Regions from separate parts of the Homo sapiens genome. Here region 1 is linked to region 2. Evidence: promoter capture Hi-C in 16 types of primary human blood cells and fetal thymus (Javierre and others, 2016). All regions are on one chromosome and are shown on one strand. Each heading gives the region's core, a stretch centred on a gene start or on the middle of the fragment in contact. The rest is flanking DNA. Distances are from core to core; before and after follow the strand shown.

Evidence for each region. The method cuts DNA at HindIII sites, captures the fragments that hold promoters and counts their contacts. A CHiCAGO score of 5 or more calls a contact.
Region 1: a fragment that was not itself captured here is called in contact with the fragment with the promoter of PHOSPHO2 in region 2 in 2 of 17 cell types (total B cells and total CD8 T cells); the score reaches 6.5 in total B cells.

The regions. Positions count from the first base shown.
Region 1 is chr2:169,567,266-169,571,487 of GRCh38, forward strand. It overlaps FASTKD1 (FAST kinase domains 1), which reads right to left. Exons shown (of 15, transcript NM_024622.6): 3 at 1,919-1,987. Among named protein-coding and RNA genes, the nearest start is that of FASTKD1, 4.5 kb to the right of the region's middle. The HindIII fragment of the contact is 934 bases long and covers 883-1,816 here.
Region 2 is chr2:169,692,637-169,697,287 of GRCh38, forward strand. It overlaps PHOSPHO2 (phosphatase, orphan 2), which reads left to right and starts at 1,833. Exons shown (of 4, transcript NM_001008489.4): 1 at 1,833-1,986; 2 at 2,579-2,611. It overlaps CFAP210 (cilia and flagella associated protein 210), which reads right to left and starts at 1,769. Exons shown (of 9, transcript NM_001085447.2): 1 at 1,625-1,769. The coding sequence starts at 1,691. PHOSPHO2-KLHL23 (PHOSPHO2-KLHL23 readthrough) reads left to right here and starts at 1,833. Exons shown (of 5, transcript NR_144936.2): 1 at 1,833-1,986; 2 at 2,579-2,611. RefSeq lists an enhancer at 1,552-1,731 and a silencer at 1,862-2,141. The HindIII fragment of the contact is 4,078 bases long and covers 618-4,651 here.

The DNA of each region.
Region 1 (4,222 bases), core at 100-2,599, 130 kb before region 2:
CAAAAGACCACCTATTTTACAAGTGATTTGTTCAAGCTGCATAATACACATAACGTATCCTTGCTTTGAAGAGAAATAAAATGTTGTGACCTATTATCAACAAATCTAACCCCAAAGATCCAGTAAATAGATAATTTGTACTGTTAGCAAAAGGAATAAGATTACTCTGCTTACCCTCAATATACTTATAGGTAGAGAGTATAAAAGAAGACAGATGGGTTTAGCTAATAAGATTAACTTAAAATCACAACTTAGTAGATTAATACAGAATTTCTAAATCTGGAGAACTGTTCTGTCCCTTAATTTAATCCAGCCCATGTAATAAAGGCCTACAGAGTTTACCAATATATAAGTATTTATTATAGTTTAAGCTTTAAGAGGCAATATGTTAAAAATATTTTAAAAATCAGAATGGTCGCTCCTCTCTGTCTACAAATAAATAGCCTGTTGTTTCTCCTTCATCTTAGTCAAGACTTTCCTGTCTGGTTTCCATTTGATTTAGAGGGAGAGTTGCTCTGTAGTTTTTAATATCCTCCTATCTCTTCCTCACCCTGATTTTTTTCTTTCCTCCCTAACATTTGCCTTATTCCACTAACAATAGACTACAATCATCCAGAGTTCCTAGATTAAAAAATTCAAAGTTTTCAGAAATAGATGAAGATTTCCCAAAATGAGTCTGCTATTATCTCAGCCCTTTTATAAATAAAGAGCTTCTGATATATAATTAGAGAATAAATTTCTCTGTACTCACAAGATTTCCCATTTTTCTGAATGATTATCAAGTAAGGCAACATGCTGAAAATAGAGCTGTGTACAATATAGGAAATATATCTGAATTAATACTGTCCACAGCAGTGGACCTGAAACTCACTTTCTTTAAAAAGCTTCTAAGTCACCTATAAGCTCTGGTCATTGCCTCTCCTTAAAAATGGAGTAACAGACAAGTAGCTACAGATGCTCCTAAACAGTGTTAAATGGCCTTCCTCTCTAATAAACTAGGGTCTCTTTTTTTCTCCTTTCCTGGCTCCTGCACTTCTAGGTTTTTATTGATAGCCAATTAATCAAGAATCTTTCCTTTCTGAAGTATTCTTCTAGAAAAGAAGATTCAAAAAGGCTAGTTCATGAATAGCTGTGACTCTATCTTATTTATATTTCAACTAATTACATGTGTGGAAAAGTATACTATTCCCCACTCTTAAAGAGGAAAAATATGAAATACTTTCTTTTCTCTCTTAAAGAATACACAGCCAGGCATGGTGGCTCATGCATATAAACCCAGCACTTTGTGAGGCCAAGGAGGAAGTATTGCTTGAGCCCAAGAGTTCAAAACCAGCCTGGGCAACATGTCAAGACCCTGTCCATTAAAAAAAAAAAAAAAAAAAAAAAAAAAAGAGAGACAGAAAAAGAGAGAAGAAAAAGAAAGAAAGAAAAGAAAAGAAAAAAGAAAAGACATGGCTGGGAGCGGTGGCTCACGCCTATAATCCCAGTACTCTGGGAGGCTGAGGCAGGTGGATCACGAGGTCAGGAGTTCAAGACCAGCCTGGCCAAGATGGTGAAACCCCATCTCTACTAAAAATACAAACAATTAGCCCTGAGTCATGGTGGGTGCCTATAATCCCAGCTACTTAGGAGGCTGAGGCAGAGAATTGCTTGAACCCAGGAGGCAGAGGTTGCAGTGAGCTGAGACCACGCCACTGCACTCCAGCCTGGGCGACAGAGTGAGACTCCATCTCAAAAAAAAAAAAAAAAACAACAACACATTACACAATCAAAAACTTTAAAACTAAACTGAGTTTAAATACATTTTTTTCAGTGAAGCTTGACAGGCATCAGTTCCCTGTTCTTTCCCTTCAAGATTTCACTCTGTTAACCCTGAAAAGAATAACCCTGATCTTCAAGATGAACCCAGGGTACTTGCCTTTCTAGCCTTCTCCATGCTTCTGTAACTAGTGCTTCAACTAGCGGGTCATGGGCCTCACCAGCAAACCTTAATAAAAAAGAAAGAATCCTCCATACATAATCATTTTAAAATCATTAAAAACATATGCAATACGAATGATAATGCAAAAGTGAAACTCAAGTTATTTTCCTCTTATACAGGCAGTCCTTATTTCTGGTCCACTCTTATTTCAATATTCTGATTTTTTGGTACAGCCTAATAAACATCTATACTTTATCCCATGCCCTCTCACCCTTTTATCTGCTTATTTCAATACCCATGCTACTGACCAATGATAATGTTCAACAATATATTTATGTTAAAAGTACATATAATATGTCTTTGTTCTGATTTAAATACTTTTGATCAGGCATGGTGGCTCACACCTGTAATCCCAGCACTTTAGCAGGCTGAGGCGGGCGGATCACTTAAGGTCAGGAGTTCGAGACCAGCCTGGGCAACATGGTGAAACCCCGTCTCTACTAAAAATACAAAAATTAGCTGGGCGTGGTGGCATGTGCCTTTAATCCCAGCTACTCAGGAGGCTACGGCAGGAAAATTGCTTGAACCCTGGAGGTAGAGGTTGCAGAGAGCCGAGACTGCACCACTGCACTCCAGCCTCGGTGACAGAGTGAGACTCCACCTCATAAATAAATAAATAAAATATTTTTATAAGAAAATGTTTGTAAAAAAATTAAAAAGCTAATAGTCACCAATCACCTTATTCACAAAACTTTAAGCATCCCCTTCAAGTACCTCAGAGAAAACAACTTTGTAACCTGAGAAAGGCCACCAAAAAACATGGAATCATCCTTTTTCAGTTTAACATCAATCCCCAATATAAGCCCCAAGCCCCTTTCCTATAAATGCCAATTCTCTTACAAAAACAACTTACACGTCTCTAACTTACGTAATGCTGATATTTACAGCCATTTAAATAACCCCTGAAGGTTGGGTCATCATGTGAGAAAACTGCTCTTTTTCATCAGTGAGACTAATAAACAGATTAGGTGTAACTTTTTTGTTTTTTCCCCCTTGTACAACTGCTGAAGCCTTCATTCAGGGAACCCAGTTCTTTTGAAGGCTGGATTTCCTTGCAAACAACATATTTCTTTTTATTTTTTTTCCTTTTTTCTTTGCTCTCTTCATTTTTTCTTCACAAATCCCAAAACTGGAATGTAATATTTCTTAACATTTATCTCTGAGTTTTTCCACTGACACCAAGGAAGCCCTTCTTTACGTAATACCTATCAACCATCCACATAATTTGTATAACATTGTTATCAAATATAAATGAATCTACAAAATCATTTTATTTCTTTTTCCTTTTAAGGGCTATTATTGAGAAACAACCTATTGTACCAATACCCCCTAGAAAACATATGTGCCGTCCATTTAATTACAATAACGAGATTGCAAACAAGTTATCACAGACAAAATTTACTAATTGCTGATTGTTATTAGGCATTACTTTTTTTTTTTTTTTTTGGAGACAGCGTCTCACTCTGTCGCCCAGAATGGAGTAGAGTAGCATGATCTGTGCTCACTGCAACCTCTACCACGTGAATTCAAGAGATTCTCCTGCCTCAGCCTCCAGAGTAGCTGGGATTCCAGGTGCCTGCCATCACGCCCAGCTAATTTTTGTATTTTTAGTAGAGGCAGGGTTTCACCATGTTGGCCAGGCTGGTCTTGAACTCCTGACCTCAGGTGATCCACCCACCTCAGCCTCCCAAAGTGCTGGGATTACAAGTGTGAGTCACCACACCCGACTGGCATTAATCTTAAATCTAACTGCTTACCTACTATATCCTCATCTGCAGCCAACCACATTTTCACAAAACTCCACAATAATCCAATTTCAAATGCCCACAGTTAACAATAGTATTACAGTTGTTAAAGGAGAATTGCTTGAACCTGGGAGGCGGAGGTTGCAGTGAGCCAAGATTGTGCCACTGTACTCCAGCCTGGTGACAGAGCAAGACTCCGCCTCAAAACAAAACAAAACAAAACAAAAAAATTAGATTATCAGGAAAACTACTGGTGAAAAAAATTATTTTTCATTTTGAAGAGATTTTTAGACCTGGCACAGTGGCTCACGCCTGTAATCCCAGCATTTTGGGAGGCCGAGGCATGCGGATCACAAGGTCAGGAGATCAAGACCATCCTGGCTAACATGGTGAAACCCCGTCTCTACTAAAAATACAAAAAAATTAGCCGGGCGTGGTGGCAGGCGCCTGTAGTCCCATTGACTCGGAAGGCTGAGGCAGGAGAATGGCGTGAACC
Region 2 (4,651 bases), core at 583-3,082:
GGGATTAAGTTCCCACACATGCCTCTGATAGCTGTGATATTTAAAATTGCCACTGAACATTTGACAAACATACTTGGTGAGTTTGAAGTCAGACTAAATAACAATAAGCCTCATGAGTGAGATTTTCCAAGGAACTATCAAACATGTCGAATAATAACAGTTGTCTGGCTTTGGAGTGGGTCAAATTCTGTTTTGTCCCCTCTACCAGTTGCTAAGTCACTATTTTTCACTGTGATTACTGTGGTTATCTAGGCTGACACGGGGCTGGGAGAAAAGTATAGGACTATGGCAAGTTAAAATGCCAAAAACCTTGCTGTTGTTACAAAAATCCAGCTGTTTTTCTTTAGTAAACACTCTACAAATTGTTGCAAGCCTTTGGTTAATTTCCAGAGTTCTGAAAAAGTCGATATTGATGATTTTTGCCACTGTTCTTGTTGATTTTATGGAGGAGAGGATTTCAGGCATAGATCCTATTTCACCATTCTGGCTGATGTCATCCCACTAAATCTTTATAAATTATTTATTTTACTAATAGCTGCACACATCTCTGAACCTCTCTCCAACTTAGCCTTCCCCTAAAAATGGAGATTAAAATTTAGCAGTGAGGCTCAGGTGGAAGCTTTTGAGCTAGTTGCCACAAAACATTATTTAACAACTATTAGGTAAATCTAAACCAGGTAGTGCAGAAATGCATATGCAGGAAAGTGAATGTGTGGGACTAATTGTGCTTTTCCAAAACTGGCCATGTTGGTACTGTTTCTTTCCTTTTACATGGCAAAAGTCCGCTGCTAACCTCATAAAACCTCCACTGCATAAATATCCACTAGTGAAGAATGACTGGCTGTCACTCTGCATCTGGTGCAGGGGGCACTATTGCTACAGAAGCTCGGGCAATGACATGAAGATACTTCAAATTGCCAAAGTTCTAGTTGTCACCATGACAACATTAATTGCTAATTTACAGACGTAAGAAACTGTTGTAGCTAGAATTGATAGAGTTCTTTAGAAGTCTATTTCTATTCCAAAATCAAATTGTTATAACAGGTCACCTGAATTACAGTACTTTATGTCACACGATTTTTTTTTAACTCTCTAAAAGCATTTGACTTAGAGAGAGACCTTATATTTACTTTAGAGAGGAGGAAATGGAGATATTTCCTTCAGAGACTTTTAGTAAAGACCAATCAGCAGGTTTGCAGAAGAGCCAAGCCTCTAAAGAGGTGACTTATATTTCCAAGAGATATTCCAATTCAATCAGTGAATAACAAACTTTAAGCGTGCGGGAAATTTAACAAAACCCAGACTCTCAGAGCTGCAACTGCGCAGTTTTAGGTCAGCTGGGGCTGGGGGTGGGGGTCTCTGATTTCCTATCTTTTCTCCACCCCTATTTCTGTAAACATTCTCCCACCCACTTCCACTCCCCGTTTCCCTCCTTCACCCATTCACCTGAGGGCAAGACGGCCTAACTTCACACAGAGCCCAAAGATGCTTATTGAGGATGCTTTCGACCTGGTGGAGTCCATTTCAAAAGGCAACTGAAGCCCTCATTCGGCATCCTCGCCTCTCACTCCATGCCGGGGGTCCAGAAACAATCCCTGTCCCTGGATAGGTCAGTTTAGCTCACCTGTACTTTCCTTCGCCCGTCCACAGCGCCGTCCAAACCGTACCAGCATCTCTGACGAGGTGTCCATGATGCTCCTAGATCTGGAAAAGTGACTGTGGCGCCAAGCGCCGCGGACGCCAGCCGGTGGAGTTGTTACTCGTACCACGCGGTTGCTTGGCAACGCCGCCGGAAGTGACGCCAGCCGTAGCCGAGGAACAAGGGAGGTGCTGCAGTTGGCGGTCGGGCTAGAGAAGAGAGGCGCCTGCGCTTGCGAGCTGGGCTTGTGAGTGGGGCTGCCGAGAGGGCAGGCGTGGGGCGAGGCCAAAGGACTGAACCCGCAGGAGCGTCACGGGCGCCGGGGCGGCTGCCGACGGCGGGACTGGGTCAGTGAGAAGCCCGTGGGCCCCCGCCCTGCCTGCTACTCCCATCCCCACCTGCGCGCTCCCCATGGGGGACGACCCCCGATTGGGTCCGATGCCTACCCTCGGGGTGGAGCCGGCAGGTGTGTGAGCGCGCGAGGCCTAGGCGTGGTGTGTGCGTCCGCAGATCTCCTCGCGGGTGGAGTGTGAGGAGCAAAGCCCTCCCTTAACTATAAAAACCCGCGGATTCGCTGACATAAACGCTGTTTTTTTAATCCTTTGGTTTCTGAGGCATGGTCAGGACTAGATGGGGCCAAGTTTTTTAAAAATAGGAATGTTAAAACGTAATGATATGCTTAGAATATTTACGTTAGGACCTTTGAGATATTTTAAATTTCTTGGTAAATACATGACCACAGAAATCTGTTAGGAGTAGCTGCGCGTTTGGTTTCAAAAGATGCTTTTCTAACACATTGATGTACAGATAACTTCATTACTAACAAGTTGGCTCTGACGTGTACACATAATGCACCAAATTGGAGTCTCTCAAAATGAAAGAACAAAAAGATTTTTAATAACGAATGTTCTAACACATAGTCGTGCTATTTTTCTTTAGGTTTTCTATCAGATGTTCCACGTAATAATGCTGGTAAGTATGGAATAATTAAGAAAATATTTGAAGACAGAAATTAGTTTGTGCACATACAGCGCTGGTAGGTTTTTGGAACTATACCTTAAAAAGTGTCAAGAACTGGGGGCCAGGCGCGGTGGCTCACGCCTGTAATCCCAGCACTTTGGGAGGCCGAGGCGGGCGGATCACGAGGTCAGGAGATCGAGACCATCCTGGCTAACACGGTGAAACCCTGTCTCTAGCAAAAATACAAAAAAATTAGCCAGGCGTGGTGGCGGGCGCCTGTAGTTCCAGGTACTCTGGAGGCTGAGGCAGGAGAATGGCGTGAACCTGGGAGGCGGAGCTTGCAGTGAGCCGACCATCGTGCCACTGCACTCCAGCCTGGGCGACAGAGCGAGACTCCGTCTCAAAAAAAAAAAAAGTTTCAAGAACTGGGAAGGAACAGAGATTTTTACCCTGTTTGCAGGCTAACTTAGCCTGGCAGTTTCATGGAAGACACAAGACTATTCATTTCAGGAATGAATTACTCCCAGCAGTAGCCAGTAAATCAGCAATTTCGCCTGAGTTCCCTAAAGCCCCAGTTCCCACAGGATAATGCAAAGTGGGCAAGAAGTCACCTAGATGTAGTGTGTGTCGAATTACAGGAAAGGAGCCCTGAGCTTAGGGAACCCAGATCTTTATCATTTGGACAAATAAGCATGTTTCTCAAGGCTGTCCAGTGTACAAACATCCTTGAGACAATAGTCTAGAGGAAAGGGCAGTCAGTAAGACATGCAGAACCACCAGAGACGCAGGGAAAATTGTCTCCCAACAACAATTTTCTGGAATTTTAACAAAATTGGTTACAAAAGTATTGAATCTCATGATTTGATGTCAGTTACTTGCCAATTTGACATGGTGGTCAGATATAATTTGACTTCAGACTCGAGATTCCAGCTCCAACCTGTGGATTGTCACAACCAAGTCAATCTAGAGTTATTTGTCCTATACCCACCACTCTTTTATTTCTTTGTTGTGAATTTAATAAGGTAGCATATGCACTCTGATCTGAAACAGAGTTTAAATTATTCTGAGAAGAAAAAAATTTTATTACAAAATTGATGTAGAAAAAGTGTGAACTACGGTTGAACCAACCATAACCATCCCACTGCACATGTAAACATTTTCTAAAACAAAAACAGGATTATACTGTACACACTATTTTGTGACTTGCTTATTTAATTTGAACTGAATATCTTGGCTTTTACTGGCTGGATATTCTGTTATTTGCTATCACATGCATATCTTACTTAATTATTTCCCAATTCTTGGATGTCTGTGTAGTTTTTAATTTTCATTATTGTGTAAAGTATGCAGGATATTGTTACACTATGGAAACATTGCAGACATACCAAATAGACATAGATTGTGCTTTTGAAGAGAACAGTTAACTTTTTGGAATTTTAACAAATTGGTTTCAAAACAGATTCACATTCTTAAAACTAAATCTTTGTTCATATTCTTAATTTTTGGAGACATTTTAATTTCTAGTACAGCACTAAATGTCTATTGACAACAGAATGTGGAACTCCTCTATTATTAAACAAGTACAAAGAAAAAATGGACTCTGAAAATCTCAATCAGCTTAACACTGATTTTATCCACTGGACAAAAACTTATTTTCACATAACATTTCTTATTTTCGACACCAAGTCGATACCAAGTGGAAAGCAAAACTTTGTTCTCCTATTGCCAAAAGATGCTTTTCTGACATTAGAAAAACAACATAATTAGAAAATACAAAAAAAAAAATTTTTTTTTTTTTGACACGGAGTCTCGCTCTGTTGCCCAGGCTAGAGTGCAGTGGCGCGATCTCGGCTCACTGCAAGCTCCGCCTCCCAGGTTCATACCATTCTCCTGCCTCAGTCTCCCAAGTAGCTAGGACTACAGGTGCCCGCCACCACGCCCAGCTAATTTTTTGTATTTTTAGTAGAGATGGGGTTTCACTGTGTTAGCCAGGATGGTCTCCATTTCCTGACCTCGTGATCCCCCGCCTCGGCCTTCCAAAGTGCTGGGATT